4 separate regions of the Homo sapiens genome follow, and regions 1, 2 and 3 are each linked to region 4. The links are contacts of gene promoters, found by promoter capture Hi-C in blood cells and fetal thymus (Javierre and others, 2016). All regions are on one chromosome and are shown on one strand. The core of a region is centred on a gene start or on the middle of the fragment in contact, and the rest is flanking DNA. Distances in the headings are between cores, read along the strand shown. Region 1 holds the start of RABGGTA (Rab geranylgeranyltransferase subunit alpha). Region 2 holds the start of DCAF11 (DDB1 and CUL4 associated factor 11). Region 3 holds the start of IPO4 (importin 4). Region 4 overlaps CHD8 (chromodomain helicase DNA binding protein 8).

Region 1 (3,026 bases), core at 1-2,500, 2.8 Mb after region 4:
GCTGCTGGAGCACCTCTCGTCGGCAGTTCCAGAGGGTGGCAAAATCAGGGTTGGCTCCCAGAATCTGGCTTGTCAGTTCCAGCACGGACTCATCCAGCTCACCAGCCTGGCGCTAAGAAGATAGGTGGCAGGGTTAGAGATCATATAATTTTCCCACTACAGGACTAAATAACGTAAACTTAAAACCATCCAATATTCTGTGAATCCCACATTATACAACAGGTACTATGAACCATGCTTTATGGCCTTACAGGTATTCTCTCATTTAATCTTCACAACAGCCTTATGCAGTAGGTGCAATTATTAGCCCCATTTTACAGATGAGCAAACTGAGGCCCAAAGAGATTCAGCAACTTGCCCAAAGTCATACAGTTATAAGTGAGATAACCCAGAATTGGATCTAGGCAGTCTGACTCTAGGGACCAGCTCTTGGCCTCTGCACTATACTAAGGGAGCTACTTGGGGTCGGGGCTACCTCTGAGGGCCCCACCTTCTGGAATACGGCCTGGGTGGCTGACTGGTATAGCTTCAGCTTCTGCTCTCGCTCTAGCCTTTTGGCCTCCGCCTGCTCTTCTGACGTCTTCACCTTCAGGCGTCCGTGCTACAAGGATGAACGGGTTGGAAGAGTGCAGGTTGCCTTGCAGAAGCTGACCTGCAAAAACCCCACACTGTGGAGCCCTAGGTTCATACGGGGCAACCATGGCACTGCCACTGGGGGTGAGGGCGCGGGCCTGCGGAGGTGAAGGGCTGGGCTCAGGGTTCTCACCATGGTGCCGGCTCAGGGTTCAAGACAGGGGAAGGGTCCAGTGGTAGCCCTTGAAGTCTGAGGAGAGAAGTGTCAATCACGTAGCCCCGCCCCTACTAGCTCCGCCCACAGCTGTGTCCGGAAGCAGCAAGCGTGCCTGGGCAGAGACCCCCAGAGTGTAAAGAGGTCCTGGGACAGGCTTTGCACGTTCCACAAGAGGTGAGCACCCGGACTAGGACTTCCATCCGTGTGGCCCTTCCTATAGCCCGATTCGCCCGGGCCAGAGCGCGAGCCGGGGCACCTGGGCGTTGGGGACCACTCTGCTCCCCAAAGGTTGCCGCTACCCGCCCGTCCCACGGCTCCCGGGCACCCCCGCCCCCCGCGGGCGGACCCACCTGCGCTGGGAGGAGGCGCGGGGGACGCGGAGCTGCGGCGCCCGCCACAGAGCCCAGGCGCTGGCTAGAGCGGCGCCACGTCCCGGCTCATCGAAACGCAGCGCACTCTGCAGGCTTGGGGAGGGACTTGCGGCGGAAGAGGCCGGCTCGGAGGCGCGTGCGCGGGGGCTCTGCGCTCGCTGTCCGGAAACGCCTCGTACCTGTTAGCCACCTGGTGTGTACGAGTGCGCACGGGCGACTGTAGCGTGCGTGTGAAATGGGGGGAGGACCATGCCAGTTGGTAACTCAGAGTGCAATGTAGTTAGTGGAAGAGGTTTCTCCAACAGCCGGAAACCCGCACCTTCACTACTCCACTGACCTCACCCTGGCCACACCGACAGCCTTCTAGATGTCAAATCTAACAGGGGGAGTTTCCTGTCATTTTCTCTAACCTCTGAAGCATTTGACGCTACCCATTTCTTTATACTTGACACCCCCATTCTGGCTTCTCCTCCTGCACCTCTGCCTCTCTCTTCTCATCTGTTCACCTCCACCCCTAAATGTTGGTGATCTCCAGGGCCCTTTCCTCACCCCTTTTTCACTTCACCCACTGTTCCTGGGAGAATGTTTAAATGTAAGCCTTCAACTGCTTCGAGTTGGAGCTCCTCAGAGCTGTTTTGGCCCACAAATCTGGCATTACACTTTCTCTGGGTGAGTTCATCCACACTCATTGTTTTAATTACTACCTGTAAATTGATGACACCCAAATTTATATCTCCAGCCCAGATGTCTTGCAAGCTTAAATAACAATAAATAATATACATGCACATACATATTCAAACACCTGTTGGATATCACCTGGTGTCCCAGAGACACCTCAAACTCCAAAAGCCAAAAGGTATAAATTATCTTTCATCCATCCTGTCTAAACATTGGCCTTTATGTTTTCTATTGTAGTGAATGGCACTATTTCCTCCTCACTTCTTAAACTCGCTTAAATACTCTTTCTCTTCCCACTGCCACTAGGAGTTCAAACTCCGAATTTCTTCTCCAGATTGTTGAAAGTCTTTTCAGTGTTCTCCACCTCATCCCTTGTTATCAGTCCATCCTCTGTGCTACTGAATCCATTTTTCTAAAATGCAGATTTGACGTCATATCTGTGCCTAAAAGTGCTGAGTGGCTCCTTTTCAGGATAGAATTGTAATCTCTCAGCTCAGCACATCAGACCTATTGGCATTTGGGCTCTGCCTACTCTCTGGCTGTATATCCTGCCTGACCCTGCCAAAAACTCTTCATGACAGCCTACAGAAATACTTGCAGTTTCCTAAATATGTTAGCCTGTTCCCTCTTGACTCTCCTTTCTCCACACTCCTCCTTTGCCACAGTAATTCCTGTTTATCTTTAAGATTTAACTTTTTGAACTCCACAGTACAAAGAAAAAAAAATGTAACTCAAGTGGCACCTCGAGGAAGTTCTCTAAAATGCCCCAGTCTGATTTGATAGACCTTCATATGTACTTTTAAAGACTGTGATTTTTTTCCCTGTGCCTACTGCAAAGAAGGTTTTCTGGTGGAGCCTTTATGAGGTTCAGGGTGGCTAGTGAGTGTGTGTGTACCACACGTACACGTGTGTGATGTCTTTGCGAATAGTGTGTCCATGTGGCATGTGTGTGTTTATAACTCACACCTGGGTAAGAAGGTAGTGCTTTAAATTTTTTTTTTTTTTTTTTTTGAGACAGGGTCTCACTCTGTTGCCCAGGCAGGAGTGCAGTGGCACGATCTCTGCTTACTGCAACCTCTGCCTCCTGGGTTCAAGCGATTCTCCTGCCTCAGCCTCTGGAGTAGCTGGGACTACAGGCATGCACCACCACACCCGACTGATTTTTGTAGTTTTAGAAGAGACGGGGT
Region 2 (3,128 bases), core at 22-2,521, 2.7 Mb after region 4:
AAGCACAGATAGTAAGTAATCTGGCAATAGAGGATGGGCGCCCAGCAGACCGCCTACATAATCAGTGGAGCCGAGTGCAAGATGAAAATACCAGGCACTTGCTTTAAAATTACTAATAATTTCAAGACCGTTAACACTAGAACATTAAACCAAACATTCAGGACCCTTCTAAGCGCAGAGGCCATCAAAGCTAGCCCTGGTGACAAGCTCAGGTCTCCGGATCTAGAGACTAGGAGACGTCGCCCGAAAGCTGGCCAAACCCTCGCCCTCACTGGGAGAGGCCCCAGGAGGGCCCAAGAAGGCCACGAGCCCTCGCTCCCATCCCTGCCCTCAGGAGCGGGCGGAGGGAAGCTCGCAGCTTTCCCAAGGAAGTGCAGGCTGCAGGGAATGAAGTTCAGCTCGGACCCTGAGCCTCTGAGCCCGAGACAGCAAGGTCATTCAACCCACACGTCCCCACCCAGCCAGGGCGAGGATCAGAGATGTGGCAACTCCCGGCCTTGGACTCAGGCTTGTTACTCATAAACCCGCAGGAGGGGGCAGGAGGGGGCAGGAGGCGGCGAGCGCGCACCCTGGACCCGCGGCCGGGGGCGGAGAGGCACCGCGAGGACAGAGGGACTAGCGAAGGTCTGCAAATCCCGGAGGGCCAAGGGAGCGTCAAAGGGGACAGCGGAACCGGAAAAGCTTTGACAGAAAGACGCGTGTATTAGGGAACGTCTGCAAAGACCGCGGCGGAAAGCCAGGGATTGTCTTAAAAAATTGTCAGACCGGATAAAGGGAGGTCTAAAAGGGGACCGTCCCAAGAGCAAGGCTTCCAAAAGCTAAGCCCGGAAGGACGGTATGGAGGTCTACTGGGACGCTGGGCACCCCTTAGGGCAGAACCGACTGGAGCTGCGGCCAGCGACAGAAGAACGGCTCCAGCTGGACAGGGGAAGCAGTGGGGAGAAAGGAGGCCCTTGGGCACTGTCTGAAAAGTGCGATGCCAAATGATCTTTAGGGACAGACAGTAAATTATATCCCTTGCTAAAATACCTCTCGGTAGCGAACCACCAAACGTTTCTTTTTTAAGCCCCGCCTCTCAGCCGTTACGCCTAGTTCGGCTGTCTCTGATTCAGGAAGCTGGCAGTTCCCACTTACTCCTCCCCAGCAAGAGCTAACAGCCCTCCTTGGGTGTGCACTTTCTCCTCCCCTCAGGCACCTCGCGCATTCTCCCGCCTACCTATCAATCATCGTGCTCCGCTGTCCAGTTGGCTGGCCAAGGGGGCGGGGCCGTCGTGTGACGTTTGCAGCCCGCCGGCCAGGAAGCCGCGAGATGCGTGACGAGCGAAGCGCGTGACGGAGGAGCGGTTGGCCAACGCAGTGGCGGCAGTCGGTGTAAACAAGGCCTCGCGCCGCTGCGGGTCCTGCGACCGCTCCTGGCTGGTGGGTGGTCTCGCGTGGGGCGGTTACCGCCGGCTTCAGTGGGAGGTGCTTCTCGGCTTCCTCCCCCTCATGGCGTACACACCCCCGGCGCACCACGTGGGCGTGAGGCGAGGAAGGAGGGGTGTTAGGCCAAATTCTATTTTCATTGGCTGTCACTGCTGCCGGCCTTTGTAAGGGGGCGCTCTGATTGGTCGATAAGGTGGGGGCGTCGAGGGTCTTTGAGTCCTAAGGCTTCTAATTGGTTAGATGAGATAAGCTAGTGAAGCGCTTTCTTCCGAGAGGGATTTCGATTGGTCGGTCAGAGAGGTTACCTGGAAATCCAACACCGCCCAACACCCCTCCCGCTCCCCAGTCCGGGGACTTCGATAGGTGAGTTTGGTGTAGAAAACAAATCTTTCTTCAGTTGGTGAGCTAGGGTAGCGCACTACGGTTCACTCTTGCTTTCTTTGCTTCACAGGATTGGAGAAGGTTTGTGTTCCCGACGCCTTGGTAGTTGGCATAGGCTAAAGAAAAGGGATCTCAGCCCCGAGGAAGGGTCACCCTCCTAGAGATAGCTACTACCCCGTCTCAGGAGACCCTGGTATTTCTAGAGCACGCTTTGCTTTCACCAAACCCAAGGAGGTGACAGGAGGAGCCCCCGCACAGGACCTAAGAATGCTGTGACCAGAAGATGGGATCGCGGAACAGCAGCAGTGCAGGATCCGGGTCCGGAGACCCCTCCGAGGGCTTGCCCCGAAGAGGGGCTGGCCTGCGTCGGAGTGAGGAAGAGGAAGAAGAGGATGAAGATGTGGATCTGGCCCAGGTACTGGCCTATCTCCTCCGCAGGTAACTTACCCTCTGGTGTGACCCCCAGCAGGTGCTACCACAGTGCCTTGATCCCAACTCCAGGCAGGAAAATTACAGAGGTTAGGAAATGGGATTCGCTCAGGACAGCTGTTCTGTTTGAGCTGAACAGCCTTTCCCTGCTGGGCACCCATGGCACTCAGCTCCATACCCAGTAAGAGTGGTTCTTACCTAGGGAGGGTCACCAAGAGGACCTGCTCATGTGTTTGAGGGGCTATTCAAGGGAGCCTGTCTCTGTGACTACACAAATATAGTCTATTTTCCAAGTAAGCTTGAAAAAAAAAAGGGGGGGGTCCTAGTGGGAAAGGAGTGATGTAAGGGGTGAAGAGATGGGAAGGGAGTGTTGAACTTTTTAGTAAGGCAGTTGACACATGATATGAGGCCACTTCGATTTACTTGAAAAACAAGTTTAATTTGCCCTGACTCTAACCTGTTCTTGAGGAAAGAATGCCTTGAAGGGAGAGACCACCTGGAATTGACTGGAAAAGGGTGCAGCTGGCTTTCTTTCTTTGCTTATGGCTCTTTGAGGAGAAGATGGGTTTGGGGGTCCCTTCAGAATATTGTATTCTTTTTTGTTTGTGTTTTGTGTTGTTTTTAGTAGACATAGACAGGGCTCACTGTGTTCCCCAGTCTGGAGAACGGGCTATTCACAGGTGTGATCAAGTGCACACCACAGCCTGCAACTCCTGGGCTCAAGCAATCCTTGCCTCCCAGGTAGCTAAGACTACAGTTGCACACACCACCGCACCCAGCTTAGAATATTGTCTTCTGTGGTGGACTTCTCAGGCAGAGGCTCAGAAGGAAATGCTGTGAGGATGTTTAGCTTGTTGGGAGGTCAACTTAGTAGGTCATGTCCACAGCGTATT
Region 3 (3,343 bases), core at 72-2,571, 2.8 Mb after region 4:
TCAGAAGCCGAAGAAGCTCCCGGTGGTGGGGTTGGAAGGCCTCGGGCCGGGAGGTCACCACCACACTTAGCAGCAAAAGCCCCATCTGTCCAAGAATAGAGGATGGGAGAGCAAGCTTACAAGGTCTATCCAGCCTCTCAGGCCCTCCCTCCTGCCAACCATGTGATGGTACCTCTCTCTCTGGGCTGTGGGGGCTGTGGGTACTGTGCTGAAGCAGCTGCAAAAGCTGTGGCCAGGCCTCCAAGCCTTCCTTTCGAAAAATGGTGGCTGAGAGCTGGGCCAGGCTGAGGCTCACACAGTGCCTGCAAACAGGAGAGATCTCCTCCAATCACCCTTCAATACCTTCCTCTGCACACAGTGGCCAGGCTCAATGGGGCAGCCAGGACAGAAACTTTCAGGAGGTGTGGGCACAGGGTCTTTGCCAAGTTGGGACACATGAGACAGCAGCTCAGAGGGAGCCCAACAGCACTGTGGGCATGTAATCTGGTAAGTTCAGTCTAACTTAGCCTGAATTTCAGTCTTATTCTTCTGACTTGGGTTTGGCAGATCATCATCACCCTTCCTCAAGAACTTTAGTCTTCAAAACAGCCTTAAAATCCTCACTCCACCTTGCGTCTAGAACTGAAGTCCCTGCCCCACAAGTCCCAGCCTGGAGCCGAAAAGGAAGGCAGAAACCTAGACAAAGTCGTCAAGATCCCGAGAGAAGTGGGTAGGTACTTACTCTGTTTCTCTCTGCAGGGCCGTCAGGATCAGGGACTTGAGGCTGGAACACAGGTGGCAGGTGTTTGGTACCCAGCCTGCCCAAGAAAAGTCTCCGCCTGGCCCCGCCCCACCCCAGGCCCAGCCCACCTCTCCCGTTGCTCCGCCGCCAGCCGTCGCCAGCGGGTGTTCAGTCGTCTGCGGGTCAGCACGGCCGCAAACTGGCGGATCTAGGACGAGGAAGCAAGCACGTGGGGGTCCGGGCAGGAAGGTGCTGAGCGGACCGCAGTGGGCGAATACTGGGGCTTGACCGGTGGCGTACAGTGGGAAGCTCGGAGGGGAGAGTCAGGGGTCTCACCTGGGGGTCGGCCGCCGAGGCTAGCAGGTCGCAGAGAGCCGGCAAAGCGGCGGGGGCCCGAAGAACGATCTGGAGCTGTTCCGTGGCCTGGGGGGAAGCTAGGGGTGAGAGTTGGGCCTTTCCCGCAACCTCCCGCTCGCCCTGGCCCGGTTACGCCTGCTCCGTACCCGACGGATGCGCTCGGTGTCCGGTAGCAGCAGCTCCCGTAGGAGCTGCTCTAGCCCGGCTGACTCCATGGCAGCAACTGAGCCGCCGCTACTGGGCCGAAAAGGGGAGGGGGAGGGACAGCACGTGGAGGTTCTGACACCCACTTCCGGAGGAAAGGGCGTTGCTGCACGCCCCGCGGGTTGCCAAGGTGATTCAATTCGCTTCCCACAAAGAGGTCCGGCTCCTCCACTTCCGTTAGGCTGAGCACCGGCTGAATCGCGGAAACCCGACTCTGGCAATGTAGGTTCCCCACGCCGGGAGTTCCCAAGCTGGGTTGGAGAACTCGAGCTTCGGGCATTCAGTGGCCAGCTCGGCTTTATAAAGGACCGTGCCCTTAACAGCAGGGCTCGAGTTCCTATATCCAGACCAAAACCTCCAACTGCATGAGCCTTTTTCTTAATAAATTTTATTTTGGTAATTGTAAAAAGAAAAATCAGGACCAAAACTAAAGGCAACTTAAAAAGTTCAAATATATAATCCTTATGTGATAGAGATTTATAATTTCCAGGCCCTCTCTGGGGAAGGAATGCCCAAAGGGCAAAAGGGAAGGCAACAATGCCATCACACAATTCAGTCAATCAGAAGAGAAGCTGGTAGGAGAGTTCAACAGGGCATGAAGAAAGGGAGAGAACAGCAATAGTTCTGCCATACAGAACTCAGTCCATCTTGAGGTTAACATAGATATACCGGATGAACTTTAGGGAAGAAAAAAAGGAGATGGTGCCCAGCATGAGGAAGAAGACATAACCAGTGAGTAAGGAGTAGCCGAAGAACTCTACTGTCTGTACTGCCCCAGACATGTTGGAGCGCCGGGCATAATAGAAAACTGAGTAGAGGAAGATGAAGAGGCCGGTGGAGCCAACACTCAGCACAGATCGCCACCACCAGCGGTAATCCTCCCCAGACAACTGGAAGTAGGTGAGTGCAATGGAGATGCAAGCCCCCACACTCAGCAGGATGGCGAAGACAAAGAAGAGGATGCCGTACAAAGTGTACTGCTCCCGACCCCATACTGTGGCAAAGATGTAGTACAGCTCCACAGAGATGGCACTGTGAAGAAAAGAGATGATACACAGCATTAAAGGGCTGTGCACCATCAGCACAGTGGCTGGGCTGAAATCCAGCCCCCACCCTCTCCCATGTTGCTGGGTCATTGTGAAAAGTGAGTTCACTCCACTCTCTGCCCCAGATCTCCTGGCTTCATGGGGATTTTTTGCCTATGATTAGCCGCTCTCACTTCAAGAATATCTTCCCTAATAGATTGAGGGCAGGGATCTTGTCCATTTTATTCCACTTTATTCTTTGCCTGGCACAAAGAGGTATTCAACAAAGTAAATGGGTCATCAAATGGGCTTTAAACCCCACATGATGTCCATAGGCATTAAAGTCAGAAACCAGGAAGGTGAAGGGGGAAATGTCTCCGGAGAGCTTTATAAGTGAGACACTCTCATATCATTCAAGCTCAGTCCTGCTTGGGGATAGGAGGAACCATTTAATGATCTCTGAATGGTACCACTGAACCAGGGATCAACGGGTTGGGTTAGGGTACTGGATGAGTAGGGACAGGAAAAATTGAGGTCAGGAACCTGACAGTAATAGCCATGGAATAAAGGGAGGATACCTGAAAGGCAGGAAGCCTCCAACAGTCATGTGGATGACAGTAGACTTGTACCAGGGCTGGGGTGGAATCTCCCGGGCGATGTTCTTGGTGCGACAGGGTGCATCAAAGGGGCTGGCGTTGTTCTTCCCAAAGATGCCTCCAATGACAGTGAGGGGAAAGCCCACCAGCAGCCAAACCGTCAGAAGCAGCAGGATGGTTGTGGCTGGCAGAGCCTGTGTCGAACCATTGGCCCAATGCACTGAGTTCACCACACTCCACGTCAGGAAGAAAGGCACTGCAGGGATGGGCCCCCGGAGGGAGGGTCAACACTAGGAGCTACATCTCTAAGGGCACCCACTTACATCCAGGACCAAAAGGGGAGGGGGCTGAAGCAGCCTGCCACTCTAACGGCAGACTCATGCTCCTGGATGTCCCTGCAGAGTCGACTGCCTTCACCTCCACCCTTTCAGGTCCCATTA
Region 4 (3,448 bases), core at 693-3,192:
TAAGAGGGAAATGTGAGGAAATCTGAGGACGGACATACAGCAGAAAGACACTCATATTTCTGCTTCAAAACTAAAACTAAAAGAGAAAAACAATAACAACCTCCTCTTGGGCACTTACACCTACAAACTTTAAAGACTCTGTCAAGAGCATTTGGCTGTCTTTCTCCGTTTCTTTTAACAATTATTATTCTTTGGTAAAGATAAAATTTAATATTCATTTACCTTCTATTTTCAGTTTTTAAGTTAGTAGAACTCAAAAATATGCCACCAGAATTACAGTGACTCTATAGATAAAGGTTTCTGGATATATTCTATTGTATAAATTTTTCTTGTGTTTTATATATTTTTACTTACTATTGGCAAAAATAACCACCTTTAACCAAGGCTTATAGTACAATCTCACCAAAGTGATCATACAATTTTACCCAGGAAGTTTTGCAACCTTTATTCTAGTTAACATATTAATCTATAATGGGATTTTTGTTCTGAAGTCCCCTCTCAAGAAAACTTTCTCATATTTAAGATAAAAAAGGTCAATTGCAAGGGATTCAACATTGTTTCCAATTTATATTCCCAACTTCCTCTTACCATCTCTTACATATATTTTACATTCCAGTCCAACTAGACTACACAATTCCCTTAATGTGATTCCTACCTGTGTGACTTTGCTTATGATGCTGTGCTTTCTGCCTGGAACACGTCCTCTCCATCCCAATGCCAATAATCTCTCGCAGCTAAAATCCTACCAACCCTCAAAGGTCTTCTACTCCATTAAGTGAGCCCTGAACCTCTGACGCTTTAACAACTGAGCAACTTGTGATGACTTGATCCCTCCACCTCCTTTAAATACCCACACCATTGTTTATACCTTAAAACACTTATATTTAATATTTTATTATAATGACCTAAGTCTGTAATATATCCTCTGAAGGCCCAAATGGTTCCTTTGCGCAAATTGTAAAAAGTTGCCCACTTCTCAAGATGCCTGGAAAACTGCCATACTAAATATATAAAAATTTGTTATGAATGTATGCAATGTACACCCTCCACAACTCTGTACCATGGCCCAGCTCCTCTTTCTCTGGGAGAAAGTTCTTGGATGGTGGGGACTATGTTTTATTTATCTGTGGATCCCCTAAGAACCAGCAGGACATAGCACATATAGTAGCTAATCAAAAAACAGTTAATGAATTATACTTGCTCGCATTATCTGGAGTAAACCATTCGATCCTCACAGAAACTAAATGGTATCCTTTGATTCTAACATGAGATGGTAAAAAGCTTCCTATCTTGAAAACATGTCTTATGAATGGCTGAAAGTAGGTTCACAAAATCCATGTCTAGGGTTTTAAGTTCATGAAACTAGTGGAAAAAAGAAAAGCTATCAAAGACAGGGAAGTATATCACCATAAAACCCAAATATATGAAAAAGAAATATCTGTTCTTTGTATATGATGACAGTATTTGACAATACAGGAAAGTCTTGCTTGGTAAGACCATTTCTCCTAACTTTTGGAAGACACCAGATAAGAAATTTGTCAGAGGCACAGTCCTGACTGAAGGAGACTTTTCCATATAACCCCCATGCTATGTTTTTTCCTTCCCAACCCATCTCACTTATCCTTATAAAACAATATAATATGGGTTAATATATCAGATACTCCAAAACAGACAAAGAGAACAAACACGTGAGTCAAAATTACAAAGTATACATGGTATCTCCAACAATGTTAAACAAGATCGTCCTTGCTTCAGTAATTGCATACTTTTCATATCTCAACCCAAGATCCATACCATCTCCCATTCCTGGCTAGCCTATTCCACCAGCTCATTCCAGCCTCTCATATCTAATATTTGCCTCCAAATTACTCAAAATGGCAATCAGGAAAGTTATGAATGCTTCCTGATTTAACGAAAACCTACTCAATAACTTGATATTAATAAATTTCCTTCCCATTATCATCAGCTTTTTTCCAGTATACCTACTTTGGCACCAATTATTTTTCATTCTCTACTCACCGTCAGAAGTTAAAGTATCTACAGCTAGGAGTAATATAAAAACAACAGTGAAAGTTTCTTTTTTTTTTTTTTTTTTTTTCTGAGACAGAGTTTCACTCTTGTCGCCCAGGCTGGAGTGCAATGGCGCGATCTCGGCTCACCGCAACCTCTACCTCCTGGGTTCAAGCGATTCTCCTGCCTCAGCCTCCCGAATAGCTGGGATTACAGGCCTGCGCCACCACACTCGGCTAATTTTGTATTTTTAGTAGAGACAGGTTTTCGCCACGTTAGTCAGACTGGTCTCGGACTCTCGACTTCAGAGGTGAGCCGTCGCCTCAGCCTCCCAAAGTGCTGGGATTATAGGCATGAGCCACCACGCTGAAAGTTTCTACTAACCAGAAGTTTACGTTGCAAATAGTTTATAGCCTGCTCCTTATTCCATGGAGTATTTTGTCGCTTCCATGATTCCTTGCTATTTGTTAATTCTAATGCTCTTCCTTTCCCCCATAATGATCCAATCTTAGGCCCAGATTTTTTTTTTTTTAAATAGGAGAAACAAGGCTGATGGTTTCTGATGAATCTCCTTACCCCCATATGACTTAGTATAAGCTTTTTAAAGATCAATGCATTGTCATTTATCTCTCCCTTCCCAATTTTCGAACCAAATTTCTGCTTCTTCTAGTTCGGTCTATGCCTAATAATTCAAAAACCTTGCCACCAAGTATCATTACTTCTCAGTCCCATCATTCTCACCTATACTGACCCAATTCATCTCATATTTTTATGCTAGTTTCCTACTTCTTTTCTAGTTCCTATCTTTAAACTGTCCTTGACTCTTACAAGATTAAACCTTCTCCCAACATACATCTAACTTTTTTTAACCCTCCTTCTACTACTACTTGTGGGTCACCCTGGCTATATCCACATACGGCCTATTTATTCTACCAAGCTCATCTATCTCATGAATCCTCTCAACCATCTCATGAATTCTCTTTCCTTGATTCAAACCCTAATAGCAAAAATGAACAGATGTTAAGTTGGTTTCAATGCAAAGTAACTGCCTAGATAAAGAAGTCACACCAACTTTTATCATATTAAGAATGAAAAGCCAGTGTTGGCCCACCAGTCCCCAAAAGAGAAACACATGTATGTGCTCAAAAGGAAAGACAAAACTTAGTGGTTGTACTTAGTCACTTTCCATAATTACAAACTAATGACCAGAATCATGACAGAAATCTTGGAGGGCATGTAGGGGGTGAGGGATGGCAGTGGAAGGGAAAAGTAACAAACTAGTCAGTTAAGGTTAAAATCCAAGCCCATCTATCTATAATCGCCAAGTAACAATACAGTTACCTGTAGAAAAATACTTTATTATATATGCCAGTATAGCCCTTCACTTCATCTCCTTCTTAAAGGTGAAACTACTGCTTCCCCTTGAGACAAGTACAAA

Evidence for each region. The method cuts DNA at HindIII sites, captures the fragments that hold promoters and counts their contacts. A CHiCAGO score of 5 or more calls a contact.
Region 1: a contact is called between the fragment with the promoter of RABGGTA here and a fragment that was not itself captured in region 4, in 1 of 17 cell types (non-activated CD4 T cells). The highest score is 6.5, in non-activated CD4 T cells.
Region 2: the fragment with the promoter of DCAF11 here is called in contact with a fragment that was not itself captured in region 4 in 1 of 17 cell types (non-activated CD4 T cells); the score reaches 6.8 in non-activated CD4 T cells.
Region 3: a contact is called between the fragment with the promoter of IPO4 here and a fragment that was not itself captured in region 4, in 1 of 17 cell types (activated CD4 T cells). The highest score is 6.6, in activated CD4 T cells.

Annotation. Positions count from the first base shown.
Region 1 is chr14:24,270,347-24,273,372 of GRCh38, forward strand. RABGGTA (Rab geranylgeranyltransferase subunit alpha) reads right to left here and starts at 1,251. Exons shown (of 17, transcript NM_182836.3): 1 at 1,141-1,251; 2 at 767-823; 3 at 491-601; 4 at 1-112. The coding sequence starts at 769. It also overlaps a transcript of NOP9 not described here. RefSeq lists enhancers at 569-778, 1,519-1,598 and silencers at 969-1,258, 1,329-1,428. The HindIII fragment of the contact is 2,930 bases long and covers 1-1,915 here.
Region 2 is chr14:24,113,506-24,116,633 of GRCh38, forward strand. DCAF11 (DDB1 and CUL4 associated factor 11) reads left to right here and starts at 1,272. Exons shown (of 15, transcript NM_025230.5): 1 at 1,272-1,788; 2 at 1,877-2,244. The coding sequence starts at 2,090. NRL (neural retina leucine zipper) reads right to left here and starts at 1,444. Exons shown (of 3, transcript NM_001354768.3): 1 at 1,217-1,444. RefSeq lists enhancers at 525-1,240, 822-961, 1,202-1,351. The HindIII fragment of the contact is 1,852 bases long and covers 680-2,531 here.
Region 3 is chr14:24,187,495-24,190,837 of GRCh38, forward strand. IPO4 (importin 4) reads right to left here and starts at 1,322. Exons shown (of 30, transcript NM_024658.4): 1 at 1,225-1,322; 2 at 1,058-1,144; 3 at 850-929; 4 at 722-763; 5 at 173-302; 6 at 1-85. The coding sequence starts at 1,293. TM9SF1 (transmembrane 9 superfamily member 1) reads right to left here. Exons shown (of 6, transcript NM_006405.7): 5 at 2,886-3,159; 6 at 1,655-2,314. The coding sequence ends at 1,921. RefSeq lists silencers at 318-528, 774-893. The HindIII fragment of the contact is 6,803 bases long and covers 114-3,343 here.
Region 4 is chr14:21,431,963-21,435,410 of GRCh38, forward strand. All of the region lies in intron 1 of CHD8 (chromodomain helicase DNA binding protein 8), which reads right to left. Among named protein-coding and RNA genes, the nearest start is that of CHD8, 22 kb to the right of the region's middle. The HindIII fragment of the contact is 1,326 bases long and covers 1,280-2,605 here.